Linked DNA regions of Homo sapiens: regions 1, 2 and 3 are each linked to region 4. Evidence: promoter capture Hi-C in 16 types of primary human blood cells and fetal thymus (Javierre and others, 2016). All regions are on one chromosome and are shown on one strand. The core of a region is centred on a gene start or on the middle of the fragment in contact, and the rest is flanking DNA. Distances in the headings are between cores, read along the strand shown.

Region 1 (2,958 bases), core at 84-2,583, 990 kb after region 4:
ATATGAAAATAATCTATATTTAAGCTAACAGAAAAAGAAAACCTGGCTAGATAAGACAGCACATCTTGGGGACTTACTTTCTCTGTTAGGCAAGGAAAGTCTTAGGTCATTGTTCCAAAATGTCTTGTCTTCTCTCCTTATAATGCTTGTAGTTAGGCTTGTTTTCCTTAGAATTATTTCATACTTGTCCAAAGTCGTAAATGTTTTCTAGATAGACATTGTCTTAACAAATGACCCAAAAACTGATTCAAAGGCAAAACCATGATGCAATCACACTGATTCATACTCAACTTGAAAATTAGATATCAGTAAATGAAATGTCGTTTCAAGAATATGGGCAGTCCCCGATAGTCTCTCCTGCAGCTTTGGCTACATGAAAACCAAAGGGGATACTGGGAATAATAATAATTATTATTAATAATAAAACAGGCTCTTAAAAAAGGCTATGGCACATTTATCAAGTAATCACTTGAATTGAATTTTAACCCATCCAATTGATTGATGATGACTTTTTTTTCTTTTTTTGCAGGAAAACCAATCATTAACAGCTTTCATTTCAGAAAGCCAAGCAATTTATATGGACTCACTCCCATAAACACAATTCTGAGTGTCAACCAATTGAGAACAATTTTGTTGGAGTAATCACATTTTGGCAGCGAATGTCAACCTACTTAAACTTCTGAAAGGTCACCAATCCCTGACTTTTAAGCTTCCAAAAATTCTGGTATAAATCCAGCAGCTTGCTCTTTTTAGAGAGGCTATACCTGACCAGCATATCTCTATTCACTATAGTAAGCAATAAGCACAACATGTTTTTTCTTTCAAATATTGAGTGGTGATTTCTTCATAATTTGACAGTATCATTTATCCCATGGAAGAACAAGTAGTTATATATCTTATTCTGGAATTCCTTTTGAGCATTAGAGCAATCTTCCCCAAAAACTGCGAACTTAAAAAAAATAATAATATTCTCTATTCAACAGTAGGTGGAAAATCAAACTCAGAAACATTTTAGCAGAATTTATTTTGCTGGGTTTTTTTCCTCCTAAACTTAGCATTGTTATCTGGATACAATCAAGATACTTTATTTCACAGCCAACGTCATGTAACAACTTTTTGTAACATTACTCAGCTCGTAGCTTTTCTCTTTCGGAAAAAGTGTTTGGAAAGCAGAATTAAAAACGAACTTGAGGGCCAGGCGCAGTGGCTCACGCCTGTAATCCCAACATTTTGGGAGTCTGAGGCGGGTGGATCACGAGGTCAGGAGACCGAGACCATCCTGGCTAATACAGTGAGACCCCGTCTCTACTAAAAATACAAAAAATTAGCCATGCATGGTGGCACGTGCCAAGTCCCAGCTACCGGGGAGGCTGAGGCAGGAGAATCGCTTGAACCTGGGAGGCAGAGGTTGCAGTGAGCCGAGATTGTGCCACTGCACTCCAGCCTGAGCAACAGAGTGAGACTCCATCTCAAAAAATAAAAAAATAAAATAAAAATTAAAAGTCAACATTTAAAAGACTTGGATTTTTCTTAGTTTTTTTTTTTTTTTTTTTTTTTTTGGCTTAATATAAGTCTTCCTCTCTCTCTCTCTTTTTCTTTCTTTTTTTTTGAGAGGCAGCCTTGGTCTGTCGCCCAGGCTGGAGTGCAGTGGCACCATCTCGGCTCACTGCAACCTCTGCCTTCTGGGTTTCAGAGATTCTAGGGCCTCAACCTCCCAAGTAGCTGGGATTACAAGTGTGCGCCACCATGCCCAACTAATTTTTGTATTTTTAGTAGAGATGGGTTTCACCATGTTGGCCAGCCTGGTCTCAAACTCCCAACTTCAAGAGATCTGCCGGCCTTGGCCTCCGAAAGTGCTAGGATTACAAGCGTAAGCCACCAGGCCCAGCCTACATTTTCTTTTATCTGTGTGTAAATATGTTGATGGTATAGTGTGCATAAGGGAAAATAAGCTTATTAAAAACTCAAGCTTCAGGGATAACTGGCTAGGCCTTACTTTTAAAGAAATAGTTGCACCTTTAACATTTTCTGCTATGATAGAAAAATATTATCCAATTAAAATGTAAGCAACCTAAACATCATTGATTACTCTAAAAGAATTATAGAATAGTAATATCTTGCCAATATCGATATTTGTGGTGCTACTCTGTTCTCATTGCATTAGCTATTAGACAATGTCTTATAGAGTTCATGGCCATTTTCTGCTTATGAATGAGAATAAATACTTGTGAAAACATAACGTGTAAGACATCAGGTATACATATATTAAAATATGTCAGTTGGCGAAAAGTAATAATTGTCTTACCAAGGAAAATTGCCTTTAGATTTGACTGTGTTCAGCTCTGGTACAAAACATAACAAACATTATGTTTCTACCTTAATTAAAAAGTAAATGTGGTTATTTTAAAAACTGTTTAAAATTAAAGCCTATTTTATAAGATGTTATATGAGACACTGCATTATTCCTTATCAAATTTATAAGGCTGTATATTCAAAATCTTGTTTTTTTTTACAAAAAAATATATCTATATAAACATATTCAGATTTATTCAGTAAAACTATCCTGCTGTGTTTTTGGTATACATTAGGAGTTTAAGTTATACATAAGTGAGACCTCTTTGAGAGTGAGTGAGTTGTAAGCTGGGTTTTAAAGCCATTTTCAGGGATAAGGAAAAGAGACAGTTTGCCAAATATAGCAATGGCAATGCAGGTTGCTCAGTTAAATTTGAATTTCAGGCAAAAAAAGTAAATGTTAAGAATCAGTTTATCCAAAATATTTTATTGGTTTTTATTATTTATTTTTATATATTTATTTATTTATTTTTGAGACAGAATCTCGCTCTGTTGCCTGGAGTGCAGTGGCGCAATCTGGAGTGCAGTGGTGCGATCTGGGCTCACTGCAAGCTCCGCCTCCCAGGTTCACGCCATGCTCCTGCCTCAGCCTCCCCAGTAGCTGGG
Region 2 (2,825 bases), core at 136-2,635, 960 kb after region 4:
GGTTAAGTGGGGACCAGATTAAGTACGGGAGTATTGGCCATGGCAACATAATAAAGCTAATAAAGGGAAAATTTCCTGTAAAAGATTTTAGACAACTACATTTTTGTTGTTGCCTATTTTCAAATTTCTGCTAAAAAATGACAGTGGTCCATCCCCTTGTCCTAACCAATAGCATTAAGGTCTAAAATTTATGTCATATGTATCATATATAGGTGTAGTTGTGTACTTTTTTTTTTTTTTTTTTTTTCTGAGACGGAGCCTCACTCTGTCGCCCAGGCTGGAGTGCAGTGGCACCATCTTCGCTCACTGCAAGCTCCGCCTCCAGGGTTCACGCCATTCTCCTCCCTCAGCCTCCGGAGTAGCTGGGACTACAGGCACCTGCCACCATGCCCAGCTAATTTTTTGTATGTTTACTAGAGATGGGGTTTCACCATGTTAGCCAGGATGGTCTCGATCTCCTGACCTCGTGATCTGCCCGCCTCGGCCTCCCAAAGTGCTAGGATTACAGGCGTGAGCCACCACACCTGGCCAGTGTGTACTATTTTTTTTTAAGTGTAAAAGATAAGATTGTTTTAAAAGGTTGTGGACACTGTCATAAAACACCTACTAGAATATCTATGTATGAAGATTTTTAAGTACTTATAGTCGGCAAATTTAATCCACTTCCACTACAGAGCAGGTAATTTAAGTTTAACTCATCTATAATTAATAATCTATTAAACCATGTTTTAATCTTAGTTAATGTCCCCTGGAATAATGGGAAAATGCAGCCTATAATAGCTCCTTTTTATGTTTATTTTGCTAAATTTCAACTTAGCACAGCATTATTTCACTGCCAGATGTTTTTTATAATAATGGCTTAATTTGAAAGAAGAAATACTCCCAGTCAGTATTCTTACTTCCCTGCCTTTTTTTTTTTTTTTTTTTTTGAGAGTGAGTCTCGTTCTGTTATCCAGGCTTGAGCGCAGTGGCATGATCTTGACTCACTGAGACCTCCACCTTTCAGGTTCATGCAATTCTCCTGCCTGAGCCTCCCGAGTAGCTGGGACTGCAGACGCTGGCCACCATGCCCAGTTAATTTTTGTATTTTTAGTAGAGACGGGGTTTCACATTGGTCAAGCTAGTCTCGAACTCCTGACCTTAGGTGATCCACCCGCCTCGGCCTCCAAAAGTGCTGGGATTACAGGCAGCCCTCAGAAGTGGCTGGACTATTTTGTGTCTCAGTAATAGATTCCTACCAGGTATGCCTCTCTCATCCAGATTAATTAATTAAAGCAACTTGTAGCATGGTTACAGCAATGCTGCCCTTGCTGTCCGTGGCACTGGTGAGTCAGGTCTTGCTCTTCCTCATACCCTTCAGCTCTGCTCTCCCTTATTTGAGCTGAGTCCCTTCATGTAATGAGTCCTCCATGTAATGAAGAATAATCTTTTATAATAATCATGTTTTTATATATAATAATAATCTACAGTACAAGGTATTAAACAACACAGAAATAATCATATAGTATTAGAAATAAATAAGACTTCAGAGAACTTTAAGTCCAATACTATCTTTTACAGATGAGGAAACTGAGGCCCAGGGCAATTGAATGAGATCCTTGTAGTTTGGGGCTACTCTATAGCAAATCTTGTGTAAAATTTTGGAATTCTAATACATGTCTCTTATTTTTCCCACCACGTTATACAACATCCCTACAACCTCCACAGTTAAAAATATTGATCAGAACATAAAACCCATCCTGAAGTCTATTTTACATGGAAACCCTTTGCTTAAATGTTTGTAGCACAGTTTACAATTCTAGAGCACAATTCTCAGGCGGAGGATCACTGGAATTCAGGAAGAGGGTAGAGCTTTGTGAGTTTTTTAGATTTACATCCACTGGGGTTTGTATTCGACTACCTGATAGAATACCCAAATAATAGTGGCTTCATCACTTGTGGGGCTGTTTTTCTCACAAAGCGAGGGAGTCTAGAGGTATGAAGTCTGGTGCCAGTGCCATCAGTGAGGAATTCAGACTCTATCTTTCTGCTCACTCTTAGCATGTGGCTTGAATCTCATGCTTATCATTAATGTCTACATGTTGGTTGTTCCAATTCCAGTCTTGAATCAGTACTCTGAGCAAGATGTTGTCGAAAATGAAAGGCAAAGTCGATCCTGTCCTGTTCTAAAGAGATTTCATGAGAATTTGAGAATTCCATTTGGCTAGTACATCCCATGCACATTCCCATCAGCAAGGCTAGCTGGGAGATCATGGATTATTTTGCTGAGAGGTATGATAATATATCCAGTGATATTCTGCAGTTAAGTACAATAATTTATGTTTTTATATCCCATAGGATGTCTTTAGGAGGCTTACACTTTAAATGAAAGACTAATAAAAAATAGGACACATAGGGTGTTATATGGTAAGAATTGTCATATAGAAAATTAAAGCAGGAAAAAAAAAGATGAGAGTTGAGAAATAAAATTTACTTTTAATTAGAATACTCATGAAAACCTCATTGAGAGTAACTATTTGTGTCAAAGTCTAAGGTGAGTGAGGCAGTAATCCAGGTGTATATTTGGGACAGGGAATTCCAGGCAGAGGGACAGCAAATGCTGTGGTGACAGTATTCCAGGGAGGTTTAGAGAGCTAAAGAATGAATAGAAAATTTAAATTAAATTAAATATTTTCACTAAAGCAAACATAGCTTACTCAACTATGTTTTAATAGCTTTATTTCTACTCACCCATATAATCACACACACCACAGGCATGAAGCCAGGTGTGTACCTTGTGCATACCTTGGAAGATGTCACATTTACCTGAAGCATAACTAGCTCCT
Region 3 (2,819 bases), core at 247-2,746, 970 kb after region 4:
TCATCCTTCTTCAGGCACAATGCATCTACCCTACATGTCTCTGCTTCTCTTTTTTTTTTTTTTTTTTTGAGACGGAGTCTCCCTCTGTCACCCAGCAGGCTGGAGTACAGTGGTGCTATCTGGGCTCACTGCAAGCTCCGCCCCTCCAGGTTTAAGCAATTCTCCGTCTCAGCCTCCGGACTCGCTGGGATTACAGGTGCGTGCCACCACGCCCGGCTAATTTTTTTTTTTTTGTATTTTTAGTAGAGACGTGGTTTCACCATCTTGGCCAAGCTGGTCTTGAACTCCTGACCTCGTGATCCACCCGTCTCGGCCTCCCAAAGTGCTGGGATTACAGGTGTGAGCCACCGCGCCCGGCCTCTGCTTCTCTTTATAACAAAATTTTCTTAATGAGTTGTCAGTGCAAACTGCATCCTTTTTGTACCTTTTAATCTTTTTCTTGAAGGTTCTTCAGTCTTCCCCCTCCACCCCGTTGCTCCAGTAAAATAGCTCTTGTTAAGGTAACCAATGTTGACAAATTCAATGGTAATTTCTCTGAGCATAAATGTTTTATCAGCTGTATTAGATGTAGTTGGTCACTACCTTTTATTGAAGCCCTCTTTTCACTTGATTTTAGAGGTTTTTCTCTTTTTTAATTCTGGATCTGCATATTTGGAAACTCATTCTCAGCTTCTCTGATGATTTCTGCTCCTCTTCTAGTCGTTTAAACTTTTACACATTTCAGACCTCAATCCATGACATAGGTGTTTTCTAACTTATCTTATTACTTAAGTTTTCTCATTCAATCTCTGTATACATACATATATATGCTTATATATATATACAGTATAGTACTACTATATATAGTATAGTACTCTTTCTGTGTATGTAATATAGCACATATATATATTAAACTATGGGATATAATTTATAAGTATAGACTATACTATATATACATATATATAGAATATGTATACTTTTTCAAAATATATATATGTATACACACATGCCAATCAATACAAATGTCTGTCTCTAAACCAGATTTCTTTCATAAACTCCAGGCTTCTTGACATTTCCAGTTGAATATTTGGTATCTCAATATTGGATTTCTGAAATTATACTTCCTAAGCCTCCCATTCTGGTTTTCTTTTCCATTATAATAAGCACCACCTCATTTATCCAAGTCAAAATCTTTGAATTTTCTTTGTCTTAAAACAATCAATCCATCAGCAAATCCTGTAACTGCTATCTTCAACATTATGTACGGAAAACTAATAAGCAAGTTATTGCAAGGTTAAACGATGCACAATTACTATGCAAAAGTCTATTGCTTTTCTGTATACCAGCAATAAGCAAGTGAAATTTAAAATTTAAATAATATAAGATTGGCAATATCACTAAAATATGAAATACTTCACCACAAATCTAAGAAAATACATAATGTTGGTAAGTGGAAAACTAAAGAAATGTAATGAAAGAAAAAAAGAAGCTCTAAATAAATGAAAAGATATTTTGTGGTCACAAATTGGAAGACTCAATATTGTTAAGATGTCAATTTGTCCCAATTGATCTATAGATTCAAGAAAATTCTAATCAAAATCCAAGGAAGGTATTTGGTAGATATTGACAAACTGATCCTAAATTTTTCATGGAAAGTCAAAAGCCTTAGAATAACCAACACAATCAAGAAGAAGAGCACAGTTGGAACATTTTTAATGCCTCTTTTTATAGAGAGACAGTAAACAAGGCAATGTGTTATTGACATAGAATAGACAGAGAGATCTGTGGAACAAACTAGATGGACCAGAAAGAGATTCACACACTGATAGTCATATGATTTCTGATGAAGGATTAGAGTTGAAGACATCAAAATGACCTCATATTTAGTTTAATATAGATACAATGGCCATATGTAGAAATATTTACTATATATATGTAGTCATAGGATAGTATATATCTGTATTTCCTGCTCTATTAATTGAGCATCTCTGGAAACAATGACACCCCAGTAGCAACGAGCACACCTAGTGTCCAGATCTTGGTTTTTCATACCATTCTCCAGTAATTTTACTCCTTCACTGGAACACCTTGTAGCATCAAAAGATAGGTGCCCAAAGCACACAAACACACATGCACATACACACACACATACACACACACACACACACACACACACACACAATGATGAGAGTATGTCAAAGTGACACAGGATGCAATTAAAAGAGCCTCTAATGGCCAAAGCTGGGACAATTTGAGCAAAAATATAAAAATAAAGTAGTACTGGATTATACATCTAAATATAAAATAAATATTCATGAGCCAATACTTACATAAATAAATGATTGAATAAATAAATAAATGAAGAGAATAGGTGATTCTCCCATGCAGAAGAATTTCAAATAAGTAGATACTCTGCCCTCAAGGAAGAGGAACATAACTCTCCACTCCTTAAATGTTCAGTCATAGTGTTTAAGTTTTCTACCCGCCTCCCACATCATGGTGTAAAATACACATCATTTATAAATGCAATACCTTGGGTAGACAATCTAAGCATTATTCTTTCAAATATAGCCAATAACTCTTCTTTGTTCCAAGGCCTGTGGATATGATGTGGCATTATGATGACAATTATGTTCGTGTTGTCGTTATTTAAGAATCACTCCTAGCAGATGATTGTCTAACCACATGGTCAAAATATAAAATCATACATATGCAAGAGATTGCAATCCACTCTCCCTTCCCTCATGCCTGGGCAAATATATAAATTAGATTTCCAATTTGAGAATTGCCTCTTATCCACAGTTCTTTTTACCGGATCGACAATGCTTTCCTCTTCTACT
Region 4 (2,700 bases), core at 28-2,527:
TGGAGTGCAGTGGCACAATCTGGGCTCACTGCAAGCTCCACCTCCCAGGTTCACGCCATTCTCCTGCCTCAGCCTCCCGAGTAGCTGGGACTACAGGTGCCCATCACCACGCCCAGCTAATTTTTTTGTATTTTTAGTAGACACGGGGTTTCACCGTGTTAGCCAGGATGGTCTCGAACTCCTGACCTTGTGATCCGCCTGCCTCGGCCTCCCAAAGTGCTGGGATTACAGGTGTGAGCCACAGCACCCGGCCCACAAATTTAGTTTTTTAAAGTAAGTAACTTTGTCTTAAAAATGATTTGTAGTAATAGTCATTAAAAGATAAACTGAGGCACATTAAAATATTAAAGCATTTATTTGACCATTCAGTGATTCATGAATCTGGTAGCTCCTGATAAAGGAGCCAAGGAGAAGGCTTTTATAGGGTGAATTTGGAAGCAAAGGAAAGATATTTGATTGGTTAAAGTGGAGTACTAGACTTATTTGGGTCATCCCAGTGGAAAGTCCCCAGTTAGAAGTTAGCTGGCAGTTTCTGATTGATTAAGCTTAAATTTCCTTTTTATCATTTACACTGATTTGGGTTTCCTTTCCTTAGGTAGGAACTCATGGAGCTGAAGCTACCTCAGCCTACTGGCCTTCTAATTATTTCAACACAGAAATAGTACTTTACGGCACACTGGAGTTGCAATTCTATTCTGCAATTGGGTGGTTTCAGATTTGTTCTTCCTATAAATTTTGGTCAAATTAGTCATTGCATTTCTTTCTATAAGTCTGAGATTCAGATATTTGGTTGCTCTGAGAAAGTCTCTGTTGAGATAGCATTGCCATACTGGTCAGATTGAAAGTGACTTTGTATCCTTTCTATTAATGTTCTGATATGAAAGAGTGATGACTCGGATATAGTGTTAATGCATTAAAAAAGCACAGCCTGACAAATCGCTTCCTATAATACACAGAAAAATGTCTAGTCTTGAATTTATAACACAGGGAAAGGTAAAAAATTTAATTATGCTTCCTAATGTTGAACATGCACGTGACAAAGTAAATACTAAAAATCCATTCAGCTGGGCGTGGACAGGGAGAGGGAACGGTGCACATCAGAGGGTGCAGGCTACTCCAACGTTTCCGTTTCCTCAGTCTCGCGGGAAGCTCCGTTGTGGGCGCCCCGGCTGGTGGCTGAGCTCAGGCCTTCAGGCAGAGGGGAGGCGAGGGCGGGGCGGTCACGTGAGAGCACTGCCGCGGTGGGTTGTGGGGGTGCTGCGGCGCCGTTTGCTTTGCCAAACCGACAAAAGAGAGATGATGGCCAACGACGCCAAGCCCGACGTGAAGACCGTGCAGGTGCTGCGGGACACAGCCAACCGCCTGCGGATCCATTCCATCAGGGCCACGTGTGCCTCTGGTTCTGGCCAGCTCACGTCGTGCTGCAGTGCAGCGGAGGTCGTGTCTGTCCTCTTCTTCCACACGATGAAGTATAAACAGACAGACCCAGAACACCCGGACAACGACCGGTTCATCCTCTCCAGGGGACATGCTGCTCCTATCCTCTATGCTGCTTGGGTGGAGGTGGGTGACATCAGTGAATCTGACTTGCTGAACCTGAGGAAACTTCACAGCGACTTGGAGAGACACCCTACCCCCCGATTGCCGTTTGTTGACGTGGCAACAGGGTCCCTAGGTCAGGGATTAGGTACTGCATGTGGAATGGCTTATACTGGCAAGTACCTTGACAAGGCCAGCTACCGGGTGTTCTGCCTTATGGGAGATGGCGAATCCTCAGAAGGCTCTGTGTGGGAGGCTTTTGCTTTTGCCTCCCACTACAACTTGGACAATCTCGTGGCGGTCTTCGACGTGAACCGCTTGGGACAAAGTGGCCCTGCACCCCTTGAGCATGGCGCAGACATCTACCAGAATTGCTGTGAAGCCTTTGGATGGAATACTTACTTAGTGGATGGCCATGATGTGGAGGCCTTGTGCCAAGCATTTTGGCAAGCAAGTCAAGTGAAGAACAAGCCTACTGCTATAGTTGCCAAGACCTTCAAAGGTCGGGGTATTCCAAATATTGAGGATGCAGAAAATTGGCATGGAAAGCCAGTGCCAAAAGAAAGAGCAGATGCAATTGTCAAATTAATTGAGAGTCAGATACAGACCAATGAGAATCTCATACCAAAATCGCCTGTGGAAGACTCACCTCAAATAAGCATCACAGATATAAAAATGACCTCCCCACCTGCTTACAAAGTTGGTGACAAGATAGCTACTCAGAAAACATATGGTTTGGCTCTGGCTAAACTGGGCCGTGCAAATGAAAGAGTTATTGTTCTGAGTGGTGACACGATGAACTCCACCTTTTCTGAGATATTCAGGAAAGAACACCCTGAGCGTTTCATAGAGTGTATTATTGCTGAACAAAACATGGTAAGTGTGGCACTAGGCTGTGCTACACGTGGTCGAACCATTGCTTTTGCTGGTGCTTTTGCTGCCTTTTTTACTAGAGCATTCGATCAGCTCCGAATGGGAGCCATTTCTCAAGCCAATATCAACCTTATTGGTTCCCACTGTGGGGTATCCACTGGAGAAGATGGAGTCTCCCAGATGGCCCTGGAGGATCTAGCCATGTTCCGAAGCATTCCCAATTGTACTGTTTTCTATCCAAGTGATGCCATCTCGACAGAGCATGCTATTTATCTAGCCGCCAATACC

Evidence for each region. The method cuts DNA at HindIII sites, captures the fragments that hold promoters and counts their contacts. A CHiCAGO score of 5 or more calls a contact.
Region 1: a fragment that was not itself captured here is called in contact with the fragment with the promoter of TKTL2 in region 4 in 1 of 17 cell types (endothelial precursors); the score reaches 6.3 in endothelial precursors.
Region 2: a fragment that was not itself captured here is called in contact with the fragment with the promoter of TKTL2 in region 4 in 1 of 17 cell types (M2 macrophages); the score reaches 5.1 in M2 macrophages.
Region 3: a fragment that was not itself captured here is called in contact with the fragment with the promoter of TKTL2 in region 4 in 5 of 17 cell types (erythroblasts, megakaryocytes, M0 macrophages and 2 more); the score reaches 11.2 in erythroblasts.

The regions. Positions count from the first base shown.
Region 1 is chr4:162,482,392-162,485,349 of GRCh38, reverse strand. No RefSeq gene overlaps it. Among named protein-coding and RNA genes, the nearest start is that of FSTL5, 320 kb to the right of the region's middle. The HindIII fragment of the contact is 1,243 bases long and covers 712-1,954 here.
Region 2 is chr4:162,517,240-162,520,064 of GRCh38, reverse strand. No RefSeq gene overlaps it. Among named protein-coding and RNA genes, the nearest start is that of FSTL5, 350 kb to the right of the region's middle. The HindIII fragment of the contact is 3,127 bases long and covers 1-2,825 here.
Region 3 is chr4:162,501,223-162,504,041 of GRCh38, reverse strand. No RefSeq gene overlaps it. Among named protein-coding and RNA genes, the nearest start is that of FSTL5, 340 kb to the right of the region's middle. The HindIII fragment of the contact is 6,861 bases long and covers 1-2,819 here.
Region 4 is chr4:163,472,331-163,475,030 of GRCh38, reverse strand. TKTL2 (transketolase like 2) reads left to right here and starts at 1,277. Exons shown (of 1, transcript NM_032136.5): 1 at 1,277-2,700. The coding sequence starts at 1,297. The HindIII fragment of the contact is 3,282 bases long and covers 548-2,700 here.